Regions from separate parts of the Homo sapiens genome. Here regions 1, 2, 3, 4, 6 and 7 are each linked to region 5. The links are contacts of gene promoters, found by promoter capture Hi-C in blood cells and fetal thymus (Javierre and others, 2016). All regions are on one chromosome and are shown on one strand. The core of a region is centred on a gene start or on the middle of the fragment in contact, and the rest is flanking DNA. Distances in the headings are between cores, read along the strand shown.

What was found. Contacts are between HindIII fragments. The CHiCAGO score rates a contact against its expected background, and 5 or more counts as called.
Region 1: a contact is called between a fragment that was not itself captured here and the fragment with the promoter of DEFB134 in region 5, in 4 of 17 cell types (M1 macrophages, erythroblasts, monocytes and 1 more). The highest score is 6.3, in M1 macrophages.
Region 2: a contact is called between a fragment that was not itself captured here and the fragment with the promoter of DEFB134 in region 5, in 2 of 17 cell types (endothelial precursors and megakaryocytes). The highest score is 5.9, in endothelial precursors.
Region 3: a fragment that was not itself captured here is called in contact with the fragment with the promoter of DEFB134 in region 5 in 1 of 17 cell types (M2 macrophages); the score reaches 5.8 in M2 macrophages.
Region 4: a fragment that was not itself captured here is called in contact with the fragment with the promoter of DEFB134 in region 5 in 2 of 17 cell types (erythroblasts and M2 macrophages); the score reaches 6.0 in erythroblasts.
Region 6: a contact is called between a fragment that was not itself captured here and the fragment with the promoter of DEFB134 in region 5, in 6 of 17 cell types (M2 macrophages, non-activated CD4 T cells, endothelial precursors and 3 more). The highest score is 6.7, in M2 macrophages.
Region 7: a contact is called between a fragment that was not itself captured here and the fragment with the promoter of DEFB134 in region 5, in 4 of 17 cell types (monocytes, M1 macrophages, total CD4 T cells and 1 more). The highest score is 6.5, in monocytes.

What each region holds. Positions count from the first base shown.
Region 1 is chr8:11,715,909-11,718,938 of GRCh38, forward strand. All of the region lies in intron 2 of GATA4 (GATA binding protein 4), which reads left to right. Among named protein-coding and RNA genes, the nearest start is that of SNORA99, 12 kb to the left of the region's middle. RefSeq lists an enhancer at 2,880-3,024 and a cis regulatory region at 2,946-2,959. The HindIII fragment of the contact is 2,161 bases long and covers 540-2,700 here.
Region 2 is chr8:11,661,213-11,664,156 of GRCh38, forward strand. No RefSeq gene overlaps it. Among named protein-coding and RNA genes, the nearest start is that of GATA4, 42 kb to the right of the region's middle. The HindIII fragment of the contact is 736 bases long and covers 1,269-2,004 here.
Region 3 is chr8:11,691,014-11,693,925 of GRCh38, forward strand. It overlaps a transcript of GATA4 not described here. Among named protein-coding and RNA genes, the nearest start is that of GATA4, 12 kb to the right of the region's middle. The HindIII fragment of the contact is 1,417 bases long and covers 734-2,150 here.
Region 4 is chr8:11,619,555-11,622,598 of GRCh38, forward strand. No RefSeq gene overlaps it. Among named protein-coding and RNA genes, the nearest start is that of LINC00208, 45 kb to the left of the region's middle. RefSeq lists an enhancer at 1,312-1,812. The HindIII fragment of the contact is 4,298 bases long and covers 1-3,044 here.
Region 5 is chr8:11,999,432-12,002,252 of GRCh38, forward strand. It overlaps DEFB134 (defensin beta 134), which reads right to left and starts at 1,321. Exons shown (of 3, transcript NM_001302695.2): 1 at 1,277-1,321. LOC105379245 (a long non-coding RNA gene) reads left to right here and starts at 2,702. Exons shown (of 3, transcript XR_001745644.2): 1 at 2,702-2,776. It also overlaps the pseudogene OR7E160P and the pseudogene LOC100421446. The HindIII fragment of the contact is 7,293 bases long and covers 1-2,821 here.
Region 6 is chr8:11,598,275-11,601,114 of GRCh38, forward strand. No RefSeq gene overlaps it. Among named protein-coding and RNA genes, the nearest start is that of LINC00208, 23 kb to the left of the region's middle. RefSeq lists an enhancer at 1,164-2,000. The HindIII fragment of the contact is 6,914 bases long and covers 1-2,840 here.
Region 7 is chr8:11,528,893-11,531,982 of GRCh38, forward strand. All of the region lies in intron 1 of BLK (BLK proto-oncogene, Src family tyrosine kinase), which reads left to right. Among named protein-coding and RNA genes, the nearest start is that of BLK-AS1, 28 kb to the right of the region's middle. RefSeq lists an enhancer at 2,953-3,032. The HindIII fragment of the contact is 224 bases long and covers 1,183-1,406 here.

The DNA.
Region 1 (3,030 bases), core at 370-2,869, 280 kb before region 5:
TTCTTTTTCTTATGAATTTGACCACTCTAGGGACCTCACACAAGTAGAATCGTACAGTGTTTGTCGTTTTGTTTCTGGCTAATTTCATTTAACATAATGTCTTCATGATTCATCCATGTTGTAGCATGTGCCAGAATTTCCTTCCTTTTTAAAGCTGAATAATGTTCCATTGTATGTGTAGACCACGTTTTGTTTATCCATTCATCCATGGATGGACACCTGAGTTGCTTCTCCGTCTTGGCTACTGTGAATAATGCTGCTATGAACATGGGTATGCAAATGAAACCTTTTGAATTTGGAGAATGTGACTATATTACCTAATTTTAAAAACATATTAAACTAATTAAGTTTTAAAAAACAGATACATGATATTCATGAATCAACCTGAAAGTAGCATCTTTTTCTTTTTTTTTTAAAGAAGATTCTCTATTTAGTGTTTATGGATGCACAGGAAAACTGCTTTAAGGCATAAGTTGTTTTTTATTAAATTTGTCTTTTACCTATTCTTTTACAATTTTGGGGGTTTTCCTTTATGCTCAAGCTTCCTCAAGATTCTTCAAGGCAGATCAAAACCATCCTCAGTGGCAATCCTGTATTTGGCTTTTGATTTTGCTTATTTCACAGGAGGTTGCTTTACTGAGAGGGGGAAATCTCTACTCCTGGTCTCAGTGCTGGTAGTGGATCTAAATCAGCAATGGGCGGACACCCCAGCCCCACACTACTGTGGCTTCCCCACTTGTGGGCACAAACAGTCACGTACTAGGCAATGGTGACCTCTCCAGGTAGGCAGTTTTCCCTCAGGTTATATTGGAGTTAGAACCTGCCTGAAAACCACTAACCGGCTGCAGCGGTGGGATTGTGTGAAGAACAAGTTACCTTCCTCCAGGGCAAGGTGATTCTTTTAAACAAATTTTAAGACAATTTAGTTGTACTGAATTTAGAGCTGAAGCCAGTTGCAAATGTAGCTGCTTGTGTCTGCATAAGAAAGAGGAAGTATGCTAGTTTTCCTTTCCTTGTTCCAGAAGAGGGCAGTTCTTGCCAACGCGAGCTGCTGCTTTAAGAACTTGAAGCAACTTTTCTGACATCTGAAACTATTTGTCTTTTGGGAACTTATTTGTCCTAGCCTGCCTGCAGAACCAGCTGTTAAGGCTCTGTTGGGAAGGAGTATCGCTCTGCTATATTGACCTCTGGTAGACCATGACATGGCCCCATATGCCATACAACATAAACTGGTTACTAAGAGTAATTTAATGGCTATCTCTAGAGCTACTCTTTTGTTACCTTCTAAAGAAGGCAGGGAAGAAAATATAAATGGGGTTATAATAGGAATAATCTTGAATCTGTTTTAATTTATACAAAATACATTTATAAGTTTTGGCACATTCACGTTTGGATACTGGCTAACAACTTTTTAGCGAGAGTAGCCTGTATCTTGCATGTCATTCCATTGAACAGTAAGGTGGATCCCTGTCAATGAAGAAATCATCTGATGCCAGGGACTTTGAAGTCTTTCTCCAAGAGGTAGATACGATGATCTCTGTTTTGCTGGAAAGAAAGCTGATACCCAGAAAGAGCCTGTAATCTCAGGTCCCCGTGGGTAGTAAACAGCCCTGGTTTGGAACCCAGGTAAGTCCAACCTGCAGGATTGTACTTTCCCCCTTTCCCCACACTTTGTATTTGCCAAATCTGATATGAGGGCACTTGGCTCTTCAGAACCAGAAGCTATGTGTGATTGAAGGGCTCTATTAAACCTTAGGATTTTCCATGACTTGTCGCTCCCATCCGCTTCCTCTCCCCAGGGTAGCTTCTTGTCTGAGTTTCCGTTTGCTTCCCACCAATCACTGTCTCTCTAGGAGCAATGTCGTCCTACGGAATCTTCCGTATCATTCCTCAACTGTAAGCTCTGCAGTTCAGGAATGCAATGTTAGGAATCCCAGTGTTGCACAAACTTCCTTTCTAGCCGTTGGATTCTGGTGTGCAGAGAACTAAAGAGACTTCCCAGGATTCAGACCCTTCCAATGGGAGGATTCTCCTAACTCTAGGGGAACTGTTGGCTGCTTAAGAGCAAAACCATATGGCTCACTCAAAAATCCCTTTCCTAAGAGAAATCTATAACTGACCCTCTGTGTTCCCTTTTCTCTGAAGATTTCAAATATATTTGTGGTAAAAGCAGAGAAAGAAGAGGAGAAAATCATAATAAAAGCACAATAATGATGATTTTAGTAAAGATAAGAATGGGGCATGGATCAAGACAATGACTAAAACCCCAGGCAGGAAAAGCCCCGTGGAATTGGTCTGAACTGAATGTAGCAGCCCATCAGTGGAAGTTTTCTTGTTTCTGGCAGGTGGCCTATGCTTTTATCTATTACTGCTCTGTAATCAGAATTGAGCCACGATATTCAAGTTTCTTATCTGAATGATGGGAATTTGGTTTTCTGGCCTTCTGCATTTTGCAGGAGCCCAAGAATTGACCTGATGTTTTAAAATATATTTTCCCTCCAAAGGAGGAGTAAAATCCAGACAGGTGGGCCATTCTGTGTGTTTAAAGTCATTGAAAAGCCTCTGCAAGTAAAATTTGAGGCTGTCTGTAACCCACATTGAATAGTTACAGATATATTTTATTTTGGAGGATAAAAAATCAAGAAGTTACTACCACAATTTGGTGGGAATTTTGAATTTTGGAGTTTTCCTTTGTACTCAAGCTTCCTCACGATTCTTCCAGGCAGATCAAAGCCATGGGTTTTGGGATCCCCTAATCGCAAATCCAGTTTTGCTTCTTAAAATCTAATCAGTCCTTAAGTTATTTTTTAAATCTTCCTTTCTACTCCCCAGTTGAAATCTCCATTTCTACTTCTAGAAATCCAGTCAAACCTTATCGCCTCCATTTAGAACTGATCGATAGCAACTGGTGAGCAGGTTAATTATAATCGCAGAATAAACGCTGAAGTCTCAAAGTTCACCACTTTTGCAATGTTTCCAAACCCCTCGGGACCATGCCAGGAGGCGCTCATTGACCCATTCCGAGCAGGT
Region 2 (2,944 bases), core at 387-2,886, 340 kb before region 5:
GGAGACGGGGAGTTGCAGTGATAGTCGCCACTGCAGATAAGGAGAATATATATTTTGTTTAACCAAACCTGTCCGTTGGCTAGAGACTCCAATGCACTGGTATCCATCAAATCCTTCTCTGATTTACACAAATCTACACAAATACCTGATTCCCCCGATAAGGAAAAGTGTAAGTCAATACTGCTCAGTTGTAATTGGGTGTTACCTGCCCCGATACTGGACTTTTTATCTGCAGCTCCTTTTGCAGGCTCGCTCCAGCTTTATCTGCCTCTTAGGTGTGACCAAATTGTCGTGTGTGCGTGTGTGTGTGTGTGTGTGTGTGTGTGTGTGTGTGTGTTGGCTCCAAAGGTTTATTCACGAATAGATCCCAAAGAAATGTCACAGAGAAATAGTGACTTGAAGTCCAAAGAGGAAAAAAAGGGAGGCCGCAGGCACATGATGGATCTGTGCAATAGTCATACGTAAGCCGCCGTGATGTCCACACCACGGAGACCCCGTCTGCTATGCATCACCCATAGCACGGGCAGCCGAACCCCAGGGCTGCCCTGATAAGAGGCCGAAACGGTGGTAAATCATCCCACACCTCCATCCCACACCTCTGGACTCAGTTTCTCCATCTATGAAAGGGAAAATTCTGTCCACTGCCAGGTATTTATCATGAGGATAAATGAACTGCATTGCGCCAAGTGATCTTGGAACAGGAAGGCTGGTGGATTAAATAAAGATTTACAAAGAATTATGTCCAAATGATCCTTATTTATGATGTGCTTGGTGAGGGTAACAGATGAGAACTCGAAGAGACCCTGGGAGAACCTGCTTCCAGTGCCTCTTTTTCCAGATGGAAAAAAAAAAAAAAAAAACAAACACCAAAATTGAGGCCCAGAGAAAAGAAGGAACTTGCCCAAGATAAACTAACCCCTTCCCCACCTCCACCTTCCTTAGCTGGGTAAGGCAGGGCTCAGGAAAGACAAGTTTTGCTACAAGCTGTCCTCAAAGCTACCCTTCTAGCCCTGAAACGGGTGTGCTCAGAAAGAATTTTTAGCAATGCAAAGAAAAATTGTAGTAAAATGTTAAGGAACATAGCAGAATAAAAAAAAAATTGCTCACATCCTATGAACTGCAATAATTGTGTGTGTGGGGGGAAACAGTATTTCAAAACATGAAAATAGTTGTGTTTGGAAGTGGGTTTTATTTTCAAATTTTGTTTCTATTGTTATTGCTTTGTTACTGGTCTGTTACAAATTATTAACATTACATTCTGTTTGTAAAGCTTTTGTTTTCAAGCAATGCAGCAGTGAATAAAATGTTTTAAAAGAAAGAAAGAAAGAAAGAAAAGCACTGCCTTACTCCCACTACCCAACCCCCTAATCTCATTCTCCCAGAGTAACTATTTTTACATTTGCAGGGTCTTTCCAGACCTTTCTTGGATACAAATTTGAACCTAAATGTTTGAATTTCTGTGTTTTGTATGTAAAGGGGATGGTGGTGGTGGTGGTGGTAGTTCCCTGGTACTATTATTCAACAAACAAGAACAAACCGTTCTGTGACCCAAGCCATTCAAGGGAGGCGAATGCACTGTTAGCGCCACCAGGAAAACGTGGCTTGTGAGCTGGGTGAGAACAGAGTTCATTCACCTCCCTCAGGAGAGACTTTACTCCCAGAAAGACTGATTCAGGCCAGCTCCGGGTGGCCTGGCTCCTTCCCCCCCAGCCCACAAGGCCCCCAGGTTTATTGGCCTCATGGACTCAACTAGTACCATTGTAGTCAGAGGTCAGTTTAATGGGAGGTGGCTCTGAGACAGCAGCGAATTGGTGTATTTGAGTGACTTGACAAAAACGAATAATAAGACAAGAATTCTGGAGAGAGTAGGTAGAGCTGACATTATGTCCAATATATTGTAATGTGTGTGGATAATATTCCTGGGAAATTCACCACCCTTCAGACACCATCTTTGTAAAGCATTCACTTATCTTCAACCCTGGGTTGTCCTAGTGTGCTAATCCAAGCTTTGGAACAGGACGCTATCATAATGCCAGTAGCCCTGTGTAGGATCCCACCATTGACACAGCATCCCCATCAACACTTATCCCATCCCTTGATCCCAAAACACTTGGAGCAGGCTCTCCATATTGAGGGTTTCTAGCTTTAGCAGATAAAAATGCAGGATACCCAGTCACAAGTGAATTTCAGATAAACACCCAATTATGTTTCTTAACTAGTTAGTGTTGGTATGAAAGTTAATTTCTTCAGAAACTTCTTTTATAACCAGCTACCGTATAAAACTATCTTATGAGCTGGGGTACCAGCCAGGGACCAGTGAGGAGACAGAAACTATATCAGTATTTTTAACAGATAATATAATAAAAGGAATTGTTAACTAGGCATGGAAAAACCACTAAAGCAGAAAGATAATCCTAACGTATGATGAAGGTAGAGACTGCAGAGGCAGATATTACTTGTAAAGTTGGGCAATCAGAAGAAAAAGGTTGAAATTATTAACATTTAGACACTTGGAGGAGAGGCCCATGGGGCTGGAAACATATGTCTGAGGAGGGGGTGAGTGACAGACAGTACTGGCATCTCTGACAGCATCTTGAAGAGTTTGTTTCTGCAAGAATAAGAAAAACTGGGCTGGGCGTGGTGGCTCATACCTGTAATTCTAGCACTTTGGGAGGTGGAGATGGAGGGAACACTTGAGCTCAGGAGCTCCAGACCAGCCTGGCCAACATGGTGAAACCCCATCTTTACCAAAAATGCAAAAATTAGCTGGGCGTGGTGGCACATGCCTGTAATCTCAGCTACTCAGGAGGCTGAGGCAGGAAAATCAGTTGAAGCTAGGAGGCGGAGGTTACAGTGAGCAAGTATCGTACCACTGCACTCTAGCCTGGGCTACAGAGTGAGATTCCATCTCAAAAAAAAAAAAAAAAGACAAAACTGAAAACTG
Region 3 (2,912 bases), core at 192-2,691, 310 kb before region 5:
CTTAATAGTTTGTGCCTTGGTTTCTTCATCTATAAAATGGAGGAAATAGAGTGACTGTGTGGATAAATGATTGTGTGGATAATCAATCCACGCAGCATACTTGGCGCTGTGCCTGGCATATAGCAATGTCCAGTGTTACTCAGTAAATGTTTGCCTAGTAAATGGATCCCAGTTTTCATCTGCAATCCAAGCCTTTTATTTTGCATATTCAGATGGGCCTCCCATTTTTAGTTCCTCACTGAACATATTCATTATGAATGGCTAAGATTGAGTTCAGACTTAGGATCCTGGTGTTCCCACCCTAAGAGATAAGGCCTCACTCTGTTGCCCAGGCTGGCGTGCAGTGGTGCCATCACTGCTCACTGCAGCCTCAACCTCCCAGGTTCAAATGATCTTCCCACCTCAGTCCTCCTGGTAACTGGGACTACAGGCACGTGCCACCACAACCCGCTATGTTTTTCTATTCCTTATTAAAGATGAGGTTTCTCCATGTTGTCCAGGCTGGATTTCGAGAGCTTAAAGTCACAAAATGTTGGGATAGGAAGGAACCTGGGAGACAGTTTAGTAGTCTCTTCATTTTATGGACAGAAAACTAAGGCTTAGAAAGTTAAGTGACTCGCCTGTGGGCATGGCAGTCCTCTGGTGGCAGTCGTGGGATTAGAATCCGGGAATCCTGACTCCCAGACCAAGGAGCTCCCTCCAGCCTCAACTAGATCCAGATCCTCGAGGCCTAAGCTTCGCTCTACACTGACACTCAGGCCACAGCAACCTGGGGTCCCTCCCTCCTCTTTCTATGGCGCCCCAAACAAAAGACTACCTGTTTCCCAGTACTTAAGGCACATCTAAGGAAGAATTTAGGACCTTTCCCAGTCCAGGGCTAGCTCTCAACTCAAAGAGGGAAGAAAAAAAAAAAATCAAAAACCACTTCAGACCATAAATGCTCCATGTTGCTTACAATGTTGACTTTCTCCTTTAATTCTCATTCAGGGAGACTGCTTCGCAGGGGATCTGTTCATGATCCTCACCTTAGTGTCACCAACAGAGGTGGCCGTGGGTGCTTTCCGTAGAAAGGGAAGGTGACAGGTGAGGCAGGCAGGAGCTCGGGCCACCTGTTCTCCAGCCTAATGGCCTCAGGTAACAGCCCAGCAGCCTCACTCCTACTTCCCCAAAGGCAAGAGAAGAAAAACGAGGCAACAACCAGAGGGAGGAAGGTGGAACTGGGGGAAACTGAGCGCAGGGGTGGAGAATGAACTAAGCTCCATCACACCTTTTCAAGCACAGCAATGACAGTGTGTGCTGTTATAAAAGAACACTTGCTCCATGAGAACATTAGAAACGTACAAAAAATTTCACGCAAGACCTCGCCGTCTTTATACGCAGGTGTATTTACGTTGATTTCTCTACCTATCTTATCTATCACTATATAATTCGAATGAACCCTAATAGAATATTGACCGGTGTCCTGAATTTTCTCCTCCCGTGCACAGCGTGAGTAATTCCCGTGAAACTATGCTCATGCGGATCTAGATTGAATCTGATCCTTCGGGCCGCGGCGGCTCCGCCTGGGAGGGCGTGGCCCCCGCGCTGGGGCGGGAACCGGCTTCTGGGGACCCGCGGCCTCTGCGCCTCAGCCGACCTCCACCGCGGGTGCGTGCGGGGGTGCGGGGGTGAGGGGTGCGGGGCTGCTCCGTCGGGAGGCTGGGAGGGAGAGCAGGCGCCGGGACCCACGCGAGGGCGCGGACGGACGGGGGGCGGGAAGCGAGGCTGCCGAGGGGAGGAAGCGGGGCCGGCGCAGCGGGCGCCAGGCCGGGCAGAGGCGGGGGCGGCCGGCCGGGGGCTGACCCCGAGCGCCGCCGAGTTTGCGCCGCCCGCCGCCCCGCGCTCGCCTCCAGCCGCCTGGGGTTCCGCGGCGGCCGTCAGCGCGCACCTCATCAATAAGGCCTGCCAGGCGCCGGCCCCGCGGCCATCCATCACCCGGGCTGCACCCCCGGCCGCGCACCGAGGCTTCTGCCAGCGCCTGCGGGGCCTCTGCGTGGAGTGGGCCGGCAGCGTTTTTCTACCCGGCAACAAATACATGGCTTTATTCCACTTCTTAATCCCAGTGTCTGTTAACGATGTGGTGTTCATTTGTTCCTAAAGAGCTGTAAGGAAGCTTAGAAATGATTCGGCAAGCTGGGCGCGGTGGCGCATATTTGTAATCCCAGCACTTAGTGAGGCAGAGGCGGCAGGATCGCTTGAGCCCAGCAGATAGAGACCAGCCTGGGCACCATGGCGAAACTCCATCTCTACGAAAAAATAAAATTAGCCAGGCGTCGTGGCGCGCGCCTGTGGTCCTGCTGGGGAGGCTGAGGTGGGAAGATGTGAGCCTGGGGAGGTAGAGGCTGCAGTGAGCTGAGATCGCACCACTGCAGTCCAGCCTGGTGACAGAGTGAGACCCTGTGGAGAAAGAGAGAAAGGGAGAAAGAAGAGAGAGAGAGAGAGAGAAAAAAAGAGGATTGATTCAGCACAAACACACACACACACACACACACACACACACACACACACACAGAGAGAGAGAGAGAGAGAGAGAGAGAGAGAGACAGAGGATTGATTCAGCACAACCGGTGCATTTCACAGATGAGGAGACCGAGGGCCAGAGTGGGCGGCTGGCGTGCCTGAGGCCACACCAGGAGGAGGTGATGGAAACTATACTGGGGCCTGCATCTCTTGCCCTACCCCCACTCCCAGCCCTTGTGCCCTCCAAATGGGCACTCCGCAGGTCCAGGATCGATATGAGTGTTTGGCATCGAATGTGTGAAAAGGGCCAAGTCATAGGTTATGGGTGTGGGTGTCAGTGCATGAACAGCACAGAGTCCGCAGGCATTCTGTCCCCCAACTCAGGCCACAGCCTGTGTGTGCGTCTGTGTGCA
Region 4 (3,044 bases), core at 159-2,658, 380 kb before region 5:
TGAACTCTCTCTTTTTTTTTTTTTTTTTTGAGATGGACTCTCACTCTGTCACCCAGGCTGGAGTGCAGTGGCATGATCTCGGCTCACTGCAACTTCTGCCTCTTAGGTTCAAGCGATTCTTCTGCCTCAGCCTCCTGAGTAGCTGGGATTACAGGCATGCACCACCATGCCTGACTAATTTTTGTATTTTTAGTAGAGACGGGGGGTTTCACCATATTGCCCAGGCTGGTCTTGAACTCCTGACCTCAAGTGATCTACCCATCTAGGCCTCCCGAAGCGTTGGGATTACAGGCATGAGCCACCATGCCCAGCCGTATGGCATTTCTTGAAAGAAATTTGTGAGCTTTTGTATGGTGGTACTGCCTGGCTGCCAGCAGCTTGCCTCTGGCCATGGCTCCCACTGTCTCTGCCTGTTTACCAGGCTTATTAATGCAATTATTTCTATTATATTAGCACATTTTCCTTCACTATGTTATCCAACTAAGTAGAAAACAAAAATAAAAGCACCGATACTAGTGATGGGAAGGATTAGGTCTCAGGAACTTAATTCAATAGAGACAAGAAGACACAAGTGGCAGATCAGCTTCAAGCTGAAGTGTGTGAATCACCTTGGCTGGTCGATTGTGTTCACCTGTGAAGGAAAATCAGAGGAAAGGCACAAAATCAGAGACCAGCACGATGAGAGGACAAGTACAAAAGGATATCATCAAACATTAAGTTTAAAAGTAAGTTGTAATTGGAGCATTTATAGTATTGTTTTTAGTTCTTAGAGAATAGAATCTCTTTATAATATATAAATCTATTGCCTAGCTTAGCACATTTGAAACTGTCTTAGTGTGTGTGTGTGTGTGTGTGTGTGTGTGTGTGTGTATTTAACTTAATGAATTTGGAGGGAGAACGTGGATAAGACGAGGAGATTGTCAGTCTCCTCGATGCCTGAAAGTGAGCCAGGATCAGCGTCCCACCCAGGCAGCCGCTGAGCCCATGAAAACCCACAGAGAAAGCTGCCAGTCCAGAATGTTCTTAGGATCCTCTGACACCTGTGTATGAGGCCCTGTTCCCTCCTCTTGCTTCCTGGACCATCTGCTTCCCCAGAGGACGGCTCCCGGGGCTGCTTCTGGAGGGGGCTTCTCTTGCTTGTCGAGGCCCCACTCCTGTGCCCAGCCCGGTATCCCTGTTCTCCGTGTCTGCCAGGAAATCGGGGAGTGGTGAGGTCTGACCACAATAGGCAGCCTGGCTTTTCCTACCCTGCCTGGTTCCCATGCCCTCCCTCCCCTATTTCATCCTCTCCCAGACTTCTTGAGGCTCAGGAGAAGACAGAGGGCTCACACACCTCTGGTGAAGTCAATGAAACGCTCACAATATTCCAACTGTGTTCCCCAAGTCACTGGAGCGGAAAGCCTGGGAGCCATCCTCACCGCCCTGGAGCCTCACGTCTGACCTCCAGCCACCTCCTGTCAATTTTCCGTCCAAAGCCCCCGAGAAATCCCCACTGCTGCTGCCCTGGCTCAGACCATCACTGCAGCTCCTCTGGGCTATTTCAACAGCCCCTGCTACTCTTTCAGCCCCAATTTGCCTCTCTCTGCTTCATTCTTCCCACTGTTGCCTAAGGGATCTTTCCGGAATGCCACTCCATCACCTCAAATCCTGATGAAAACACTTCAGGGCTTCTTACTGTCAAGCTCCAGCCTCAGCATTCCCAGCCCACCTGCCTCTCCAGCCTTACTTTCTCCTCTCCTCCCCACCAAGCCCAAGCGGAAGCCACAGGAGGCCATCAGCAAGTTTACCCACAGTGTCTAGAATGCCCCTGCTCCTTGGGGGCGTTCACACCCTTACATGTCAGATCCGCCTTGCTGCTATTCCTCCTCCGTTTCCCCAAGAGGAATTAATTCCTCCTTCCTATGCTTCCACAACACTCGAAAACTATCTATTCTCCCTTTAACACACCTGTGCTGTAGTGATGACTCTCGTCTCTCTTCTTTATGGTAATCTTCTCAAGGAAACACCATCTTCCATCTCCAGCTGCAGGGCCTGGTCCAGCCTTGGCACAGAGTTGGCACTTAGTAAATATCTATTGAATTTATTTAATTAGACTGAAAATATGTAGCCCTTAACTATGTATGGTTTACTATGAAAAAAGTGGTTACATAACTGTTTACGGAGAATCAAAGATATGCTTCTAAATACCAAAACAAAGAGTTTGATTTTAAAATAATGTATCAGCAGCGAGGTGGGGTGCCACACAATCAATGCATGTTCAGCAAACATATGCAGAACTGGAGGGACTCTCCCATAAACAGAGGACTCCCTCTTTATGGGACCATCTGCTAATCCTCATTCCAGACACCTCAACCTTCTCAGTCAGAACAGGAGACAAAATTATTGGCATGGGAAGGAGTGGGAATTAGCATCCCTTCTCTGTGTAATCCAGAAATTAAGGGTAGTAGCAATAGCTATGGTTTCCTAAATATCTTCTGCATGCCAGATGCATCTAATAATTCATATCTAATCTAATATCTAATAATGACCACACACTGTGGTTATAGTAGCCTCTCCTCACTTCTTCTTCTTCTTCTTTTTTTTTTGACATGGATTATCATTCTGTCACCCAGGCTAGAGTGCAGTGGCATGATCTTGGCTCGCTACAAACTCCACCTCCCAGGTTCAAGTGATTCTCATACCTCAGCCTCCTGAGTAGCTGGGATTACAGGTGCTCACCAACACACCCAGCTAATTTTTGTCTTTTTAGACTTTCCACGCATGTCAAGGCTGTCTCCCTGCCCCTTTCAGCCCTCCTATGCTCCCCATCTCTACCCTGCCACCCCCTCACTGCCAACAGCTGAGGCTAATTTCATCACTCTTCTCCAGCCATTTTGCTTATCGTTGACTCCAAGCTCCTAAGCATTTCTTGGCTTCCCCCAGGTGCCCTGTTTTTGAATTAACCTGAGATTATGGCAGACCACAAGGGCTGCATCACACCAAGTTCTCCCCAAGATTTGCCATATTTCCTCTACCACCAGGTGGGGTTCAAAGTAGGGTGCTCT
Region 5 (2,821 bases), core at 71-2,570:
GATAAACAGCTGGAAGAGGCTTTAACCCAAGCAAAAATAATGTTGCTTACAAAGCCAAAGTTAAAAAACCCCAAGACCATTACAGTGCCAAATTCTTTTCCCCAGAACGGACTATTACTATCATTCTCCCACTATTGATAAGGAGCTCGTTCACTGACTAGGTCACCAACTACCAGCAATTCGTGATTTTACTTAAATATCAGAACAGGACAGCCTCTGAGTTTTGCTCTAAAAGGTAAAGAAGAATTTCAGCAACTGTCAGAGATCGTCTCTTGTTATCTAGACCTCCCCTGGCTCAGCGTCTGGTTCACTGTAGGTGCCACGAGTTGGGAGCTGACCTAGTTCATAGACTTTAGAGATAAAGAGGGGAGATGTGCGCATCATTTGAAAACAAGTATGTGGCTTACCAGCACACCAGCTTTTTCTTTTCATCCATATATTCCCCTAAGGCCACATGGTGCTCTGGGATTAGAAAATGGAGAAGTACAATATGCTCCACGCTAGGACTAGATGGCTCTTTCTTCTGCCTCCTGGGTTTGGTATTTCTTTAGGGTCATCATGCTACTCTTCTCATCTTCCTGATCTGTGGTTGTTCTGCAACTGCCATACTCTCAGCTGCAATTGAAATGTCCCTGTCTGACCCTGAGCCATACAGATTCAATATGCAGCCTTTCCAAATGACAATCCTAATAAACAGAAATGTATTCTAGCCAACAGTGGGAGATGCAGAAGGAAGCAGCTTCTGTATCCTCTGTGAAGAGATGGTCCTCTTTCCCATTACAAATTTTACAGCACCCATTCCTTTTTTTTTCATAGCACTTGTCACAATTGTTACTATATCAATTATTTGTGTCTCTGATTAGACTGTGAAATCCGAGTAGATTCCATGACTGTCTTATTTATCATTTTACACCAGTATTGGGCTGAAAGTCTAGCAGGCCATCAGTGCCAAAGGTATATTTGTTGAATAAATAAATGAACTCTAGATATTAGGTTTATACTTTAACTTTACAATATATAGTAGTTATTCCTTATTCATGGGGCTATGTTCCAAGACCCCCAGTAGATGCTTGAAACAGTCGATAATACTGAACTCTATATATACAGTGCTTTTTTTCTATACATGCAGACCTATGATAAAGTTAAATTTATAAATTTGGCACAGTAAGATTTTAATAACAATAACTAATAATAAAACAATTATAACAATATGCTATCATAACAATACTATAAAAGTTATGTGAATGTGAACTCTGTCTCCCCCAAAATATCTTACTGTGCTATGCTCACTCTTCTTCTTGTGCTGATGTAAGATGATATAATGCCTATGTGATGAGAGGAAGTGAGGAAAACGACATAGGCATTGTGACATAGCATTAGGCTATTGCTAATCTTCTGACCATAGCTCAGAAGGGGGATCATCTCCTTCGGGTGATGCTGGGTCACTGAGCCATGGTGATGTTAGTGGCTGGATCTCAGAAGCATATGATTTCAATAACTAATGGGCAGGTAGTGTTTACAGTGTGGATACACTGGACAAAGGGATGATTCACATTCTGGGTGTGTGGAGCTGCGTAGTGCAAGATTTTGTGTTACTCAGAACAGCATGCAATTTAAAACTTATGAATTGTTTATTTATGGAATTTTGTGTTTATTTATTTATTTATTTTGAGATGGAGGCTTGCTCTGTCACCCAGGCTGGAGTGCAGTGGCGTGATCTTGGCTCACTGCAACCTCTGCCTCCCAGGTTCAAGTGATTCTCCTGCCTCAGCCTCCTGAGTAGCTGAGATTACAGGCACCTGCCACCACACCTGGCTGATTTTAGTATTTTTAGTAGAGACGGGGTTTCACCATGTTGGCCAGGCTGGTCTCGAACCCCTGCCCTCAGGTGATCCACCCACCTTGGTCTCCCAAAGCGCTGGGATTACAGGCATGAGCCACTGCACCCAGCGTATTTAATATTTTGGACTGTGGTTGACTGTAAGTAACTAGAACTGTGGCTGGGTGGGGAACTACTGCAGATATATTCCTAACAGCTGGTATTTGGAGCACTTTTAGGCATCAAGGATTGTAGTATGTATTTTTTTTAATATTGCCTCACTTAATCTTACAAATGATCTCTTAACTAGACATTTTCACAATTCACATTTTCAAGATGTTGAAGCAGAGATTTGAGTAATTCTTCTAAAATCACACATCTGGGACTGATAAGTCTTACAGAGATTCTAGAACCCAAATTAATTAACCACTCTTCTATATTGTCTCCTGGGACAAAGGGGTTCTGAAATATAGCAAAAATTCTACTTTGAATCTAGTCTGGGCCAGCCAGGAAGAATTAGTAGATGCCAGGGCCTGGGGAGCTAGAACCTATGGTAAGGAAGTGACACTGAAAAAGCTAAAGAATCTTTCTTTCTTTCTCTCTCTCTTTCTTTTTCTTTCTTTCTTTCTCTCTCTCTTTCTTTTTCTTTCTCTTTCTTTCTTTCTTTCTTTCTTTCTTTCTTTCTTTCTTTCTTTCTTTCTTTCTTTCTTTCTCTCTCTCTCTCTCTTTCTTTTCTTTCTTTCTTTTCTTTCACAGACGTCTTGGGACGCAAAGGGCCAAGGCATCAGAAACACTTGGTACCAGCTTCCACAGCAACAATGAGAGGTAACCCCAGTGCTTCCACTACCAACAGGACATTACCACTTGCAGGCAGAGAAACAGACAAGAAAAATAGTGGATGCCACATATTAGGACTCGTCTGAGACATGATGCAAGACTTTTTAGAAAGAATTTGAGGTGAGATGAGGCTGGGCTCTCTGAAGTAGTTCAAGAGAAATACTA
Region 6 (2,840 bases), core at 199-2,698, 400 kb before region 5:
GTGGTGGCTCATGCCTGTAATCCTAGCACTTTGGGAGGCCGAGGTGGGTGGGTCACATGAGGTCAGGAGTTCAAGACAAGCCTGGCCAACATGGTGAAACCCTGTCTCTACTAAAAACACAAAAATTAGCTGGATGTGGTGGTGCATGCCTGTAATCCCAGCTACTCGAAGGCTGAGGCAGGAGAATCGCCTGAACCTGGTAGGTGGAGGTTGCAGTGAGCCAACATCTCTCCACTGCATGCGTGGGTGACAGAGCAAGACTCTGTCTTAAAAAAAAAAAAAAAAAAAAAAAAAAAGGAGATTAGGGTCTGGGTTTCATGGCTCAAGCCTGCAATTCCAGCATTTTGGAAGGCCAAGGCAGGCAGGTCACCTGAGGTCAGGTGTTCGAGACCAGCCTGGCCAACATGGTAAAACCCCATCTCTACTAAAAATACAAAAATTAGCTGTGCATGGTGGTACCTACTCGGGAGGCTGAGGTAGGATAATCGCTTGAACCTGGGAGTTGGAGGTCGCAGTGAGCTGAGATCAAGCCACTACACTCCAGCCTGGGTGACACGGCAAGACTCTGTCTCAAAAATAATAATAATAAAAGAAAAGGAGATTAGGCCACAGAAACACAGAGGGATGACCATGTGAGGACACAGCAAGAATGTGGCCATCCACAAACCCAGGGGAGAGGCCTCAGGAGAAACCAACCCTGCCGGCACCTTGAGCTTGGACTTCTAGCCTCCAGAACAGTGAGAAGATGAACGGCTGGTGTTGAAGCCACCTGGTCTGTGGGACTTTGTCATGGCAGCCTGAGCTGATTAATGCAGGTTTCATGCCAGCTTCAATTCAATTCAAGAAATGCAAATCTCCCAGCCACTGTCCTCTAGGCATTAGGCTGGATAGTGTGGATTCAAAGAGGAAACCCTGGAGGAGGGCGTGCTTGAATACAGGATCTGAAAAGCTGGAGGAGAGAATTCATTTGCACAGGCCTCAGAAGACATACAGAGTGTGGCCTGGTGAATTAGGAGGGACTGTCAAGGAATTCTCCTCAGAGGAGGTGAAATAGGAGCAAATTTCGAAGGCATATTAAGGTTTGGCCCACCAGTCAGGCAGAGAGGGGGGAAGGATCACAGAGCAAAGTGAGCCGTGGGTGCAGAGACTGCCTGTGAAAAGGCACAGCTGCGTGGGTGGAATGGGTGGTGGGAGGCTCAGAACTGCTCCCTCTGCTTGTGCTGCTGTAACAAAATACCATAGATTGGGTAATTTATAAAGAAGAGAAATGGATTCCTCACAGTTCTGGAGGCCGGAAGTCTGAGATGAAGGGGCCGACACTGGTGTCTAGAGAGGGCTGCTCTCTGCTTCCATGGTGGCGCCTTCCTGCTGCGAGCTTACCTGGCGCATGCTCACCTGGCACCTTCTCACCTGGCGGGAGGGGGAAAGGCCTCAGCTGGCCCCGGACTGCCCCTTGATGAGGCATGAATCATTCATAAGGGAGGAGCCCTCACAGCCTCATCACCTCCTGAGGCCCTCACCCCTTTATACTGCCACCGTGGGGATTAACTTTCAGCATGAATTTTGGAGGGGACACATTCAAACGACAGCACTCTCCAAACTTGGTTTCTCCATCTGTAAATGGGATAATAATATCTCAGGCAGTTGGCATAAGGGTCAGCTGAGACAACAGGGAAAGAAGAATGTTTATGGCAAAGCACTCCCAGAGATGACTTCAGATGAAGCCATCACAAGCCTTCTGATTTTTCATTCAACTCACCCACCTCCCACCTGTAACCCTTATTTGGCACAGGAGTCCATCAAACCAGGCCAGGCACAATTGTTTTTTGTTTGTTTGTTTGTTTGTTTTGAGATAGGGTCTCACTCTGTCATCCAGGCCGGAACACAGTGGTGTGGTCAGGGCTCACCACAGCCTTGGACTCGTGGGCTCATGCGATCCTCCCTCCTCGGCCTCCTGAGTAGCTGGGACTACAGGTGCACACCACCACACTCAGCTAATTTTTGTATTTTTTTGTAGAGACAAGGTTCCATGTTACCCAGTTGGTCTCAAATTCCTGGGCTCAAGCAATCTACCGGCCTTGGCCTCCCAAAATGCTGGGATTACATGCGGGAGCCCCCAATGGCCAGCCGGATTGTTTTTAATAAACTTTCTATTTTAGCATAGATTTAGATTTATGGAAAAGCTGCAAAGATAGTACAGAGAGTTCCCACATTCCTCCACGCAGTTTCCATCATTGTTAACATCTTACATTAGTATGTTAAACTTGTCAAATTAATGCACCAATACTATTATTGATACGTTACTACAAACTAAAGTCCATATTTTTTCAGATACTTAGTTGTCACCTAATGCCCTTTTTTTTCTTCCATGACCCTGGAGTATATGTCATCATCATGCCTCCTGAGGCTCCTCTTGGCTGTAACCGTTCTAGCCTGATTTTTGAATTCCAGGACACGGCATTTGCTAAGAAATGTACCTATGTATAGAAGTAGGAATGAGGGAACAGTTGGAGGATTTTTGGAGAAAAGCACATTATTTTTCAGCATTGTATCATTTGGCGAATCAACAACACGTGTTTGTTACAAATGAGACTATCTGTTCGCTGAAGGAGCCCTAAAGAGCCTGTGTTTATGATATTCTCAGTTCACTTTATCCTTTGCACTAAAAAATACTGATTTACATGTGTACATACACATAGACACACGCACACACACGCAATTTTAGAATTCACTCGTGTGATAGCCCCAGTCCTTCCCAATAGCCTGTCTCTGGCCCCAGGTGTTCTGTGTTCTCAGACTGTCTGAGCCCCTGTTCCTTGGAGGGTGAAAGGCTGCCTCCC
Region 7 (3,090 bases), core at 45-2,544, 470 kb before region 5:
TGAACGGTGAGAACATATGGACACACAGAGGGGAATAACACACACTGGGGCCTATTGGGGAGCGGGAAGGAGAGCATCAGGAAAAATAGCTAATGGATGCTGGACCGAATACTTAGGTGATGGGTTGATAGGTGCAGCAAACCACCATAGCACACGTTTACATATGTAACAAACCTGCACATTCTGCACACGTACCCCATAACTTAAAATTTAAAATAATAGTAATAATAATAATTAGCCCTAATATAAGGAGTGAAAGTGTAAATCGCCCAGTGGGTTCACCTTGCCCGCTGCCTAGACAAAGCCAATTTATCAAGACAGAGGAATTGCAAAAGAGAAAGAGTAATTCACACAGAGCCAGCTGTGTGGAAGACCGGAGTCTTATTATTACTCAAATCAGCCTCCTTGAGCATTCGGCGATCAGAGTTTTTAAGAATAATTTGGTGGGTGGAGGAAGCCAGTGAGTCGAGAGTGCTGATTGGTTGGGTCAGAGATGAAATCACAGGGAGTCAAAGCTGTCTTCCTGCGCTGAGTCAATTCCTGGGTGGGAGCCACAGATCAGATGAGCTGGTTTCTTGATCTGGGTGGTGCCAGCTGATCCATCAAGTGCCAGGTCTGCAAAATATCTCAAGCGCTGATCTTAGGAGCAGTTTGGGGGGTGGGAGATCAGAATCTTGTAGCCTCCAGCTGCATGACTCCTAAATCATAATTTCTAATCCTGTGGCTAATTTGTTAGTCCTACAAAGGCATCTAGTTCCCAGGAAAGAAGGAGGGTTCTTCTGGAATGCGCTGTTATTGTCTTCATTTTTAACTACAAACTATAAATTAACTTCTTCCCAAAATTAGTTCAGCCTATGCCCAGGAATGACCAAGGACAGCTTGGAGGTTAGAAGCAAGATGCAGTTGGTTAGGTTAGATCTCTTTCACTGTCTCAGTTGTAATTTTGCAGCGGCAGTTTCAAAAGTCCTAGCTTCAGGAGTCCCTGTAGAACTGACCTGAAGCCTCAAGGAATCCAGGTGAATAACCCCAAAAATCAACCAAATATGGGGTCATCAGCAGAAGCTCAAGAACAATGGATGAGGCTGGAATCTAATAACAGGTGTGCTGTAGCTGTTTTGAAACATAATTTTTCTCTCTCCAGTTTATTTTTACTAAAGACAAGACCAATTTATTTGCAAAATAAGCTTGCCTTATTATACTTTGCCTAATTATTTACATAAAGTGCAGCAAGAATAATTATTGGCCATATAGGCTCTTTTTTTCTAACTGGCTTTGCTGGAATTTTTTTCATAAGGAATCTCAGATTAGACCTTTTAAAAGTCTCTTGAGCCCAGCCAAGGATTTATTTGTGCCTGCAGATACTTGTATGAATTGGGTGAATTCCTTTCTTCTTGAGGTCCCAACAAAGCTTGGAGTTCCTGGGCCTGTCAGAAAGTGACATTCTTTATTTGCCACAGGTCGGGAATCCTGTACAGGACAAGGTAGGAGGTCAGTTCCTCCAAGGGGCTTTCATCATCTCTGTAGGTCAGCCTCGATTTCTTAAAGCAGTCTGAAAATATGTCATTTCAGTCAAAGCCTTGGTAAAATAAGCAGTGTCTCCAACTGTGTCTTGCTACAAAAGAAAACACATTCTTATTGAACTTACTCAAGTAACTATATTGCCTTATGTTAAAAATACTCACAAATAATTTCCAAATTCTGGAGAAGGCAGGTAAAGAGAAAGAAATATGCTCTAAATTTTGTTTACAGGAGTATATTTTGCTCAATTGTTAAAAGTTGTAAATAGCTCAGTAGAAGTTTTCTTTACTCTGAAAAACAAAACAAAAAGAATCAGCAACAATTTTAAGTGAAAAGTCGAAAAGATTTTTCCAGTTACTGAATGTTTTGGTTGTTTCCAGCTGGGAGCTAATTAATATGAGTAACAATGCTAAGAACATATATGTCAAGTCTTTCTGTGGTCATATGTTTTTATTTCTCTTTGATAAGCAACAAGAAGTGAAATATCTGGGTCACAGGTTAAGAAGCTCCCAAATTGTTTCCTAAAGTTGTTTCGTTTCACCTTACCATCAGCCTCAGGTGAGCATTCTAGTTTCTCCATATGCTTGCCAACACTTGGTATGATCGGTCATCTAATTTTAGCATCTGGGTGGTTGTGTGGTGGCATTTCACTGTGGTTTTAGTTGCCATTCCCCTAATGACTGACGACACCGAACACCTGTTCATGGGTTTGTGTGCTGCTCAGCTGTCTTCTCTGTTCAACTGTTTGTTAAATTGAATTTTTGGCTTCTTTTATAGAGTTTAAAAGTTAATTATATATTCTCATATAGATACATGTTTTTCAAAAATGTCCTGCCTGTCTCTGATTTAGCTATTTCTTTTCTTAATGGTGTTTTTAAAGTGCAGAAGTTCTTAATTTTGAAAAGTCTAATTTATCAATTTTTCTTGTATACTTTATGATCTTCTATTCTAAGGGAATAATCTATTCTAAGGGAATAGAAGGTCACGTTTGTATGCTTCTGACTCATATTCTTTATATCCTTTGTGACACCAAGGTCACAAAGATTTCCTTCTAGGTTTTCTTCTAAGAATATAATGTACCTCTTTAAAGCAGCTTTTAAGATTGTTTTTATTTATCATTGGTTTTCAACAATACGATTATAATGTACCTTGGTGTGGTTTTCTTCATACTTGGGGTTGATATTCTTGAGTCTTCGGGTCTATAGCTTCTATCAAATTTGGAATTTCCATTTTTGGTTTCTTTAAGTTTCATAGTCTTTCTGGTAGCCCAGTTACGTGTCTTCTGACTGCGTGCTAATTTCTCCCCAGTCACTGATGCTCTGTTGTTTATGTTCACCTTTTTCTCCCTGTGCTTCACTGTGGGTACTTTCAATTGCAGTGTCTCCAAGCCCTCTGACCTTCCTTCTGCAGCACCCAATGTACTATTCATCCCATCTAGAGTTTTGGTTGTTTGTTTGTTTGTTTTTGAGACAGAGTCTCGCCCTGTTGCCCAGGCTGGAGTGCAGTGGCACCATCTCGGCTCACTGCAACCACAGCCTCTCGAGTTCAAGTGATTCTTCTGCATCAGCCTCC